Regions from separate parts of the Homo sapiens genome. Here region 1 is linked to region 2. Evidence: promoter capture Hi-C in human tissues and cell types (Jung and others, 2019). All regions are on one chromosome and are shown on one strand. Each heading gives the region's core, a stretch centred on a gene start or on the middle of the fragment in contact. The rest is flanking DNA. Distances are from core to core; before and after follow the strand shown. Region 1 overlaps OLFM2 (olfactomedin 2). Region 2 holds the start of ZNF559 (zinc finger protein 559).

Region 1 (4,282 bases), core at 1,253-3,752, 600 kb before region 2:
CTTTACCTGTGCCTGACATTCCACCGATAGGGCACTGTTGTTTAGGGGTAAGACGATGTTCTCCTGGGGCTCCTTTAGAGCATGTAAATGTCCCAGTGGAGGGAAGTAAAAGGAAATTTAAAGACTCCGAGTTAGTGTAGGAAAGAGCCCCTTGGGGCTGGATTTAAGATTATGGAGCTTGAGCGACATCTAGTGGTCGAGTGAGGTTTGTGCAGGGACTGTGTGCGTCTGTGTGACTGGTGGGTGAATGTGTGTGGTTGTGCACCTGTGCGTGGGCGCGTGCGTATGTGGGATGGGGGTGCCCAGGTCAGGGTAAAACAGGTGAGATACTCGCCGCGGGTGCAAACATTTTAAAAAGTTGATGATGATGATGATGATGATATTTGAAACAGAGTCTTGCTGTGTCGTCCACACTGGAGTGCAGTGGTGCGATTTCGGCTCACTGCAATCTCTGCCTCCCGGGTTCAAGCGATTCTCCTGCTCAGCCTCTCGAGTAGCTGGGATTATAGGCGCACAGCACCACAGCCGGCTAAATTTTTTTTTTTTTGTATTTTTAATAGAGACAGGGTTTCACCACGTTGCCCACTCTGGTCTCGAACTCCAGACCTCAGATGATCTGCCCGCCTTGGCCTCCCAAAGTGCTGGGATTACAGGCGTGAGCCACGGTGCCGGGCCTATTTCTAAGACGGGGTCTTGTTCTGTCACCCATGCTGGAGTGCAGTGGTGCAGTCATAGCTCACTGAAGCCTCCAACTCCTGGGCTCAAGTGATTCTTCTGCCTCAGCCTCCTGAGTAGCTAGGGTGACAGGTACATGGTACAGAGTTCAGCTATAGTACAAAATTTAAGGGTATGCCCCCCAAAAAAATAAAAACCAGTAACCAAGATAAATAATATTTTAATGGAACATTTTAAGAAAAATCTAAATTGATGCAAGAAAAATCTATAATGAATAAAAACAAATTTTTAAATAAATATGGGCTCCCCCTCTGCACTTGCATAACTTGCCTCACTCTAACTTTGGCCCCATAGGCATGTGTCTGTGGTGTCATGCGTGTATGTGTATGTTTGGTGACTGTGTGCATGTTCAGGGACCATGAGCACAGGGACATGCTTGTATCATCATCACACCAGTGACTGTATCCATGTAGGCCAACCATATGGTATGTGTGGATTTCTTTCTTTCTTTCTTTTTTTTTTTGAGATGGAGTTTCGCTCTTGTTGCCCAGGCTGGAGGTCAGTGGCGCGATCTCGGCTCACCGCAACCTCTGCCTCCTGGGTTCAAGTGATTCTCCTGCCTCAACCTCCCGAGTAGCTGGGATTACGGGCATGCACCACCACATCCAGCTAATTTTGTATTTTTAGTAGAGACGAGGGTTCTCCATGTTGGTCAGGTTGGTCTCGAACTCCTGACCTCAGGTGATCTGCCTGCCTCAGCCTCCCAAAATGCTGGGATTACAGGCGTGAGCCACCACGCCTGGCCTGGTATGTGTGGGTTTCTGATGAGCCCAGTGGCTGGTGTGGGCAATGACTTTGTAGCCCCAGGATTCAGTGTTAGTGCCTGAGAGACAGTAATGTGCTGTTTTCATTTGTTCCTACATGCATGTATTCATTTATTTTATTTTATTTTATTTTATTTTATTTTGAGACGGGGTCTCACTCTGTCGCCCAGGCTGGCGTGAAGTGGTGCAATCTCGGCTCACTGCAACCTCCACCTCCCGAGTTCAAGCTCTTCTCCCGCCTCAGCCTCCCAAGTAGCTGGGACTACAGGCACACACCACCACACCCACCTAATGTTTACATTTTTAGTAGAGACAGGGTTTCTCTATATTGTTGTTCAGGCTGGTCTCAAACTCCTGACCTCAGGTGATCCACCCGCCTCAGCCTCCCAAAGTGCTGGGATTACAGGTGTGAGCCACCGCGCCCGGCCCATGTATTCATTTAGAGAGCATTCATTGAGAGCCTTCTGTATCTCAAGCGTTGTACTATGCAACAAGCACTGGGTGGTAGTTTGTGCTTTCAAGGGGTGGAGTAGATTTAACTTCTGGAGGAGTTGAGTCTGGCTGTGTTGGGAAAAAACTTGTCATGACAGGAACATTTTATTCCCATATCTAGGGAACTCTTGTCTGAGAACATTGACATGTCCTCCCTGCCAAGGTGGAAGCCCATTCTATCTCTTTTTTTCTTTTTGAGATGGGGTCTTGCCATGGTGCCCAGGCAGGCCTCGAACTCCTGGGCTTAAGCAATTCTCCTGCCTCAGCCTCCCAAGTAGTTGGGATTACAGGTGCACACCACCTCAGTGTGTCTTGCAACTTCATCCATCCAGAGTGCAGCCACAAACCAAGAAGTCACCAGGAAAGAGCAGAGAGTAGGGAGAGTAGATTCCATGAAGACTGTATACAAAAGCTTATTCTCTTTCTCTCTTTTTTTTTTTTTTAGACAGAGTCTCACTCTGTCGCCCAGTCTGGAGTGCAGTGGCACGATCTCATCTCACTGCAACCTCTGCCTCCTGGGTTCAAGCAATTCTCATGCCTCAGCCACCCAAGTAGCTGGGACTACAGGCGTGCACCACCATGCCTGGCTAGTTTTTGTATTTTTAATAGAGACGGGGTTTTGCCATGTTGCCCAGGCTGGTCTTGAACTCCTGGCCTCAAGTGATCCACCCACCTTGGCCTCCCTCAGTGCTGGGATTACAGGCATGAGCCACTGCATCCAGCCTGGAAAAGGTTGTTCTTGTTGCTCCTGGGGACCCAGTAGACTCTCGGTCCCAGTTTACTCTTACTTTACACATAGTTCCAACAATCCTGGGCAGCTAGTAACTAGCCTTGCTTAATAGATGAGAAGACAGGTGTCATTGCACAAGAAGAAAGAAACAAAAAGGCAAAGCCAGTTCAGCCATCAAATGAAATGGCAAATAGCTTCTCACTTTTTAGGCTCTAAGAGAGTCCTGGTGAATCCCAGGAAGAATACATGATGAGCACATGGTGAGCCGGGTTCTTTTTAAATTTTATTTTGTTTTTTTTTTTTTAAGACGCAGGGTCTTGCTCTGTTGACCAGGCTAGAGTGGAGTGGTGTGACCACAGCCCACTGTAGCCTCAACCTCCTTGGCCCAAGTGATCCTCCTACCTTAGCCTCTCAAATAGTTAGGACTACAGGTGTGTACCACTACATCCAGCTAATTTTTCTCTTTCTTTTTCTTTTTTTTGGTAGAGATGGGGGTCTCACTATGTTGCCCAGGCTGGTCTTGAACTCTTGGCCTTAAGTGATCCTCTTGCCTCAGCCTCCCAAGGTGCTGGGATTACAGGCATGAGCCACAGGGCCCAGCTAATTTTTGTATTTTTAGTAGAGACAGGGTTTCACAATATTGTTCAGGCTGGTCTCGAACTCCTGACCTCAAGTGATCCGCCTCAGCCTCCCAAGGTGCTGGGATTACAGGCATGAGTCACTGCACCCGGCCCACATTGTTTCTGTTCCTAATTTCTCTAGTAATTTCTATGAGAAAGACACTGATAGAGGCACTCACTCACTCAGGAGGGACGTGACACAGTCCGCTCTGAATGGCTGTCAGTTGCCAAATTTGGGAGACAGATGCAGCCGACACATGGTACAAAGTGCCAGATGTCAAGAGTCAAGTGGGCTTCCTGGGGGAGGTGGCATTTGAGATGGGCCTTGAAGGATGAGCGAGTGAAGACTGGAGGGTGGACACAGAAGAAAGTCATTGGTCATGCTGACAAGACCTGGTGGGTTTACCCTTATTTTACATGATTCTAACCATGTTTAAAAGAGGGGAAGTTTCTGGAAATGGGAACTAGGGTAAGTGTGTGGTTGATGCCTATGGTGGGTGCAGATAGGAGAAGGGAAGTGAGCTTGAAAAGGTTGTGATCTGACTGTAAAGGCTTCGAAAGCTGGGTTAAGGATTTTAGAATTTATTTATTCATTTATTTATTTATATTTTTTTCGAGACAGAGCCTCGCTCTGTCGCCCAGGCTGGAGTGCAGTGGTGCGATCTCAGCTCACTGCAACCCTCCCCTCCCAGGTTCAAGCAATTCTCCTACCTCAGCCTCCCAAGGAACTGGGTTAACAGGCGCGTGCTACCACGCCTGGCTAATTTTTGTATTTTTAGTAGAGACAGGATTTCACCATGTTGGCCAGGCTGGTCTCAAACTCCTGACCTCGTGATCTGCCTGCCTCGGCCTCCTAAAGTGCTGGGATTACAGGCGTCAGCCACCGTGCTGGACCTTATTTATTTATTTTTAGAGATAGAGTCTTGCTCTGTTGCCCAGGC
Region 2 (3,750 bases), core at 23-2,522:
CTTCTTTTTGAAACAGGGTCTCACTCTGTTGCCTAAGCTGGAATGCAGTGACACAATAATGGCTCACAGCAGCCTCGACCTCCCATGCTCAAGTGATCCTCGCATCTCGGCCTCCAAAGTGGATGGGACCACAGACACCACCATGCCCAGCTAATTTTTTATTTTTAGTAGAGACAGAGGCTTGCCCTATTTTTTCCAGGTTGGCATCAAATTCCTGGGCTCAAGCGATCCTCCAGCCTCAGCCTCCCAAAACGCTGGGATTACAGGTGTGAGCCACCTTGCCCCGCCCTCAGTAAGACTTTCAAATGAGTAACTGGTAGAAAACCCACCTGTCAAAAGTTATCTTCGCATTCATTATCAATTCAATCCCTCCTGCTAGTAAATCAGCCCGCACCGTGTTCCTGGGGATGCCCTCGTTTTGAACCTCTGGGGGAATCTACAGGGCGCTAGAGTGAGATCTAGGTGATGGCCTGGAACCACAGTTGAGTAGTCCTGTGTTTTTCCTTGGTGGTAAATTTTACAGTTATGTGCATTCATCCACTCATGCATTCGATGGTATCAGATCCATGTGCTCTCGAACAACCACCTGAAAAGGTTTCTTTCCACCTCGACACAACTTAAACTTCAAGACCCGACACCCACAGCCAGAACAAGTGCATGAAGTGCTCACCGGGACACGACAGAATTGTCAGGTTGCTGAGGCCAGGAGGACACCAAGCGAAGGTCACCGTGAACAGGAAGGCAGAGATGCTGTTCCTTATAGAGAAAAGGCACAACGCTGGATGTGGAGACTTTTTTTTTTTTTTCCATTAGAGATGGTTGGGGGGGGGGGTCTCCCTATGTTGCCCTGCCTGGTCTTGAACTCCTGGCCTCAAGTAATCCTCCTACCCAATCCGCCCAAAGCGCTGGGAATGACAGGCGTGAGCCGCCGCGCCGGGCCCTATGAGGCTTCTGCAGAGGGGAGCAGGGAAAATGGAAAGGCCGTGCCCCCCGCCTCCTCCCGGGCCGAGGCCCCAGCGCAGCCGCCTCGACCCCTGAGGACAGACCTGACTGTGGCTCTCAGAGGAGGGGCCGCGACTTGGGAGAGCCCACAAGATGCTCGAAATGCCCGAAAGTGCACGGGACAGGCTCCATTTCACTGGGCACCTCCCCTTTCCACCCTTCTACTCTCGCGTGGCTGCACCGGGACACCACCGAACGCCGCCCAGAAACAAAAACTTACCTCAGACGCCAACGGGAACGCGCTGTTAAGATGGCGGCCGTTATGCGCATGCGCCCACGCAGACACGCCGCGCACGCGCAAAGGCTAGGACCACCTAGGGGGCGGGGCCTCGGGTTCCCGGGCCCATCAGCTGCTGCGGCTTTTTCCAACCCAGAGCTGAGAGGAAATGCTGTTTACCTCCCCGAAGAGCGCAAGTGTCACCGGTAGGGGGTCTTGACTGCAAGCTGTCCAGGTTACTGGCGTTTTGAACAAAGAATTAGACAAAACGCCCAGCAAAGCAAAGAAAGAATGAAGCAACAAAAGAACAAGAGCTGGGATTTGTTGAAAACGAAAGCATACTCCACAGTGTGGGAACTGGCCAAGCGGCAGCTCAAGGGCTCCGAAACAGAACCTTCATGAGTCCCAATACCTCCTAGAATTTTCCCATTGGCCACTTCATGCTCACCTCCTGTAAATGAAGCGGTAGCCCGCGTTCAGTCTGATTGGTTGCAGAAAGCAGCCAACCAGAGTCTGAAGTTACAAAGGTCACACTCCTGTGCAAACATCTGATTGGTTGCAAAAAGCAACCAATCAAAGGCTAGGGTGAAGTTACGACGTTACAAAGTTACACTTCTATGCAAATGAAGACTCAACCGGCCATCAGTCTGATTTGTTGCAGACAGCCAATTTCCTATCTGCCAGCAGAAAAGGTCAAAGGGAGTAGCCTCTGGTCCTTTTGTTATTTAGGCGAGGAAAGTGAGGGTTTTCCTTTCAATTTAGTTCTAGGAAGTCGGCCTGAAACAGCCTTAAGTTCCCTGCCTCCCGACTCTATTCAGCCTCACAAGGGCTTGATTTTTGGTCATCTCACACTCAGAGACTAGAATGCTCCTATTGGAATTTGTTCAAAAATTAGCACATAGAGGCTGGGCCTGATGGCTCACGCCAGTGATCCCAGCACTTTGGGAGGCTGAGGCAGGCAGACCACTTGAGCTCAGGAGTTCGAGACCAGCCTGGGCAATATGGCAAAACCCTATTCCTATAAAAAAGACAAAAAACACAAAAATTAGGACGTAGTTAAGAGCATAGATAAGATTCATGCGGACTTCCTAAAAGTGAAAACACCAAGATCTGGGGTCGGGGAATCTAAGGCCAATTCGTGATAATTTCCTAAAGTTAAATCAAAGGAAAAACACCTGGGGCTGGGGGCAGGGCACCTAAGGCCAATTAACACAAACTTCCTGAAGCTAAACCAAAAGGAAAAACCCCATCTCCCCAAGATCAAAGACTACTCTCTCTACAGTAAAAAGTAAAGTAGAGGTTCCTCTTCAAAGACTTTCCTGCCCATCTAATTAGGAATAAATAGTAACTTCTGTTAGAAGCAAAATTTATTCAAAGACCTGTACTAATGTGTCCGGAATTGGTGGGTTCTTGGTCTCACCGACTCCAAGAATGAAGCCGGGGACCCTCGTGGTGAGTGTTACAGATCTTAAGGTGGCACGTCTGGAGTTTGTTCCTTCTGATGTTCGGATGTGCTCGGAGTTTCTTCCTTCTGGTGGGTTCGTGGTCTTGCTGGCTCAGGAGTGAAGCTGCAGACCTTCGCGGTGAGTGTTAGAGCTCTTAAAGCGGCGCGTCTGGAGTTGTTCATTTCTCCCGGTGGGCTCGTGGTCTCGCTGGCTTCAGGAGTGAAGCTGCAGACCTTCGCGGTGAGTGTTACAGCTCATAAAAGCAGTGTGGACCCAAAGAGTGAGCAGTAGCAAGAGTTATTGCAAAGAGTGAAACAACAAAGCTTCCACGGCGTGGAAGGGGATCAAAGCGGGTTACCACTGCTGGCTGGGGCAGCCTGCTTTTATTCTCTTATGTGGCCCCACCCACATCCTGCTGACTGGTAGAGTCAAGTGGTCTGTTTTGACAGGGCGCTGATTGGTGCCTTTACAATCCCTGAGCTAGACACAAAGGTTCTCCACATCCCCACTAGATTAGCTAGCTACAGAGTGTCGACACAAAGGTTCTCCAAGTCCCCACCAGAGTAGCTAGATACAGAGTGTTGATTGGTGCATTCACAAACCCTGAGCTAGACACAGGGTGCTGATTGGTGTGTTTACAAACCTTGAGCTAGATACAGAGTGCCAATTGGTGTATTTACAATACTTTAGCTAGACATAAAGGTTCTCCAAGTTCCCACTAGACTCAGGAGCCCAGCTGGCTTCACCCAGTGGATCTTGCACTGGGGCTGCAGGTGGAGCTGCCTGCCAGTCCCGCGCCATGCGCCCGCACTCCTCAGCCCTTGGGTGGTCGACGGGATTGGGTGCCGTGGAGCAGGGGGCGGCACTTGTCGGGGAGGCTCCGGCTGCACAGGAGCCCACGGAGGAGGAGGCGGGGGAGGAGGGGGTAGGAGGGGGAAGGAGCGGGGGGTAGGGCAGGGGGAGAGGAGGGTGGGGGTGGGGAGGGGGGTGGGGAGGAGGGTGGGGGGGAGGAGGGCGGGGGGAGGAGGGGAGGAGGAGTGGGGGAGGAGGGTGGCAGGGGGGAGGAGGGCGGGGGGGAGAGGAGGG

The links. The method cuts DNA at HindIII sites, captures the fragments that hold promoters and counts their contacts. A contact is called where the count stands out against the background at its distance.
Region 1: a contact is called between a fragment that was not itself captured here and the fragment with the promoter of ZNF559 in region 2, in 1 of the 25 tissues and cell types used here (spleen).

Annotation. Positions count from the first base shown.
Region 1 is chr19:9,926,956-9,931,237 of GRCh38, reverse strand. All of the region lies in intron 1 of OLFM2 (olfactomedin 2), which reads left to right. Among named protein-coding and RNA genes, the nearest start is that of OLFM2, 7.4 kb to the left of the region's middle. The HindIII fragment of the contact is 7,982 bases long and covers 1-4,282 here.
Region 2 is chr19:9,321,701-9,325,450 of GRCh38, reverse strand. It overlaps ZNF559 (zinc finger protein 559), which reads right to left and starts at 1,272. Exons shown (of 7, transcript NM_032497.3): 1 at 1,223-1,272; 2 at 671-756. It overlaps ZNF559-ZNF177 (ZNF559-ZNF177 readthrough), which reads right to left and starts at 1,272. Exons shown (of 13, transcript NM_001384659.1): 1 at 1,223-1,272; 2 at 671-756. RefSeq lists a silencer at 869-1,008 and an enhancer at 1,179-1,428. The HindIII fragment of the contact is 8,356 bases long and covers 1-3,750 here.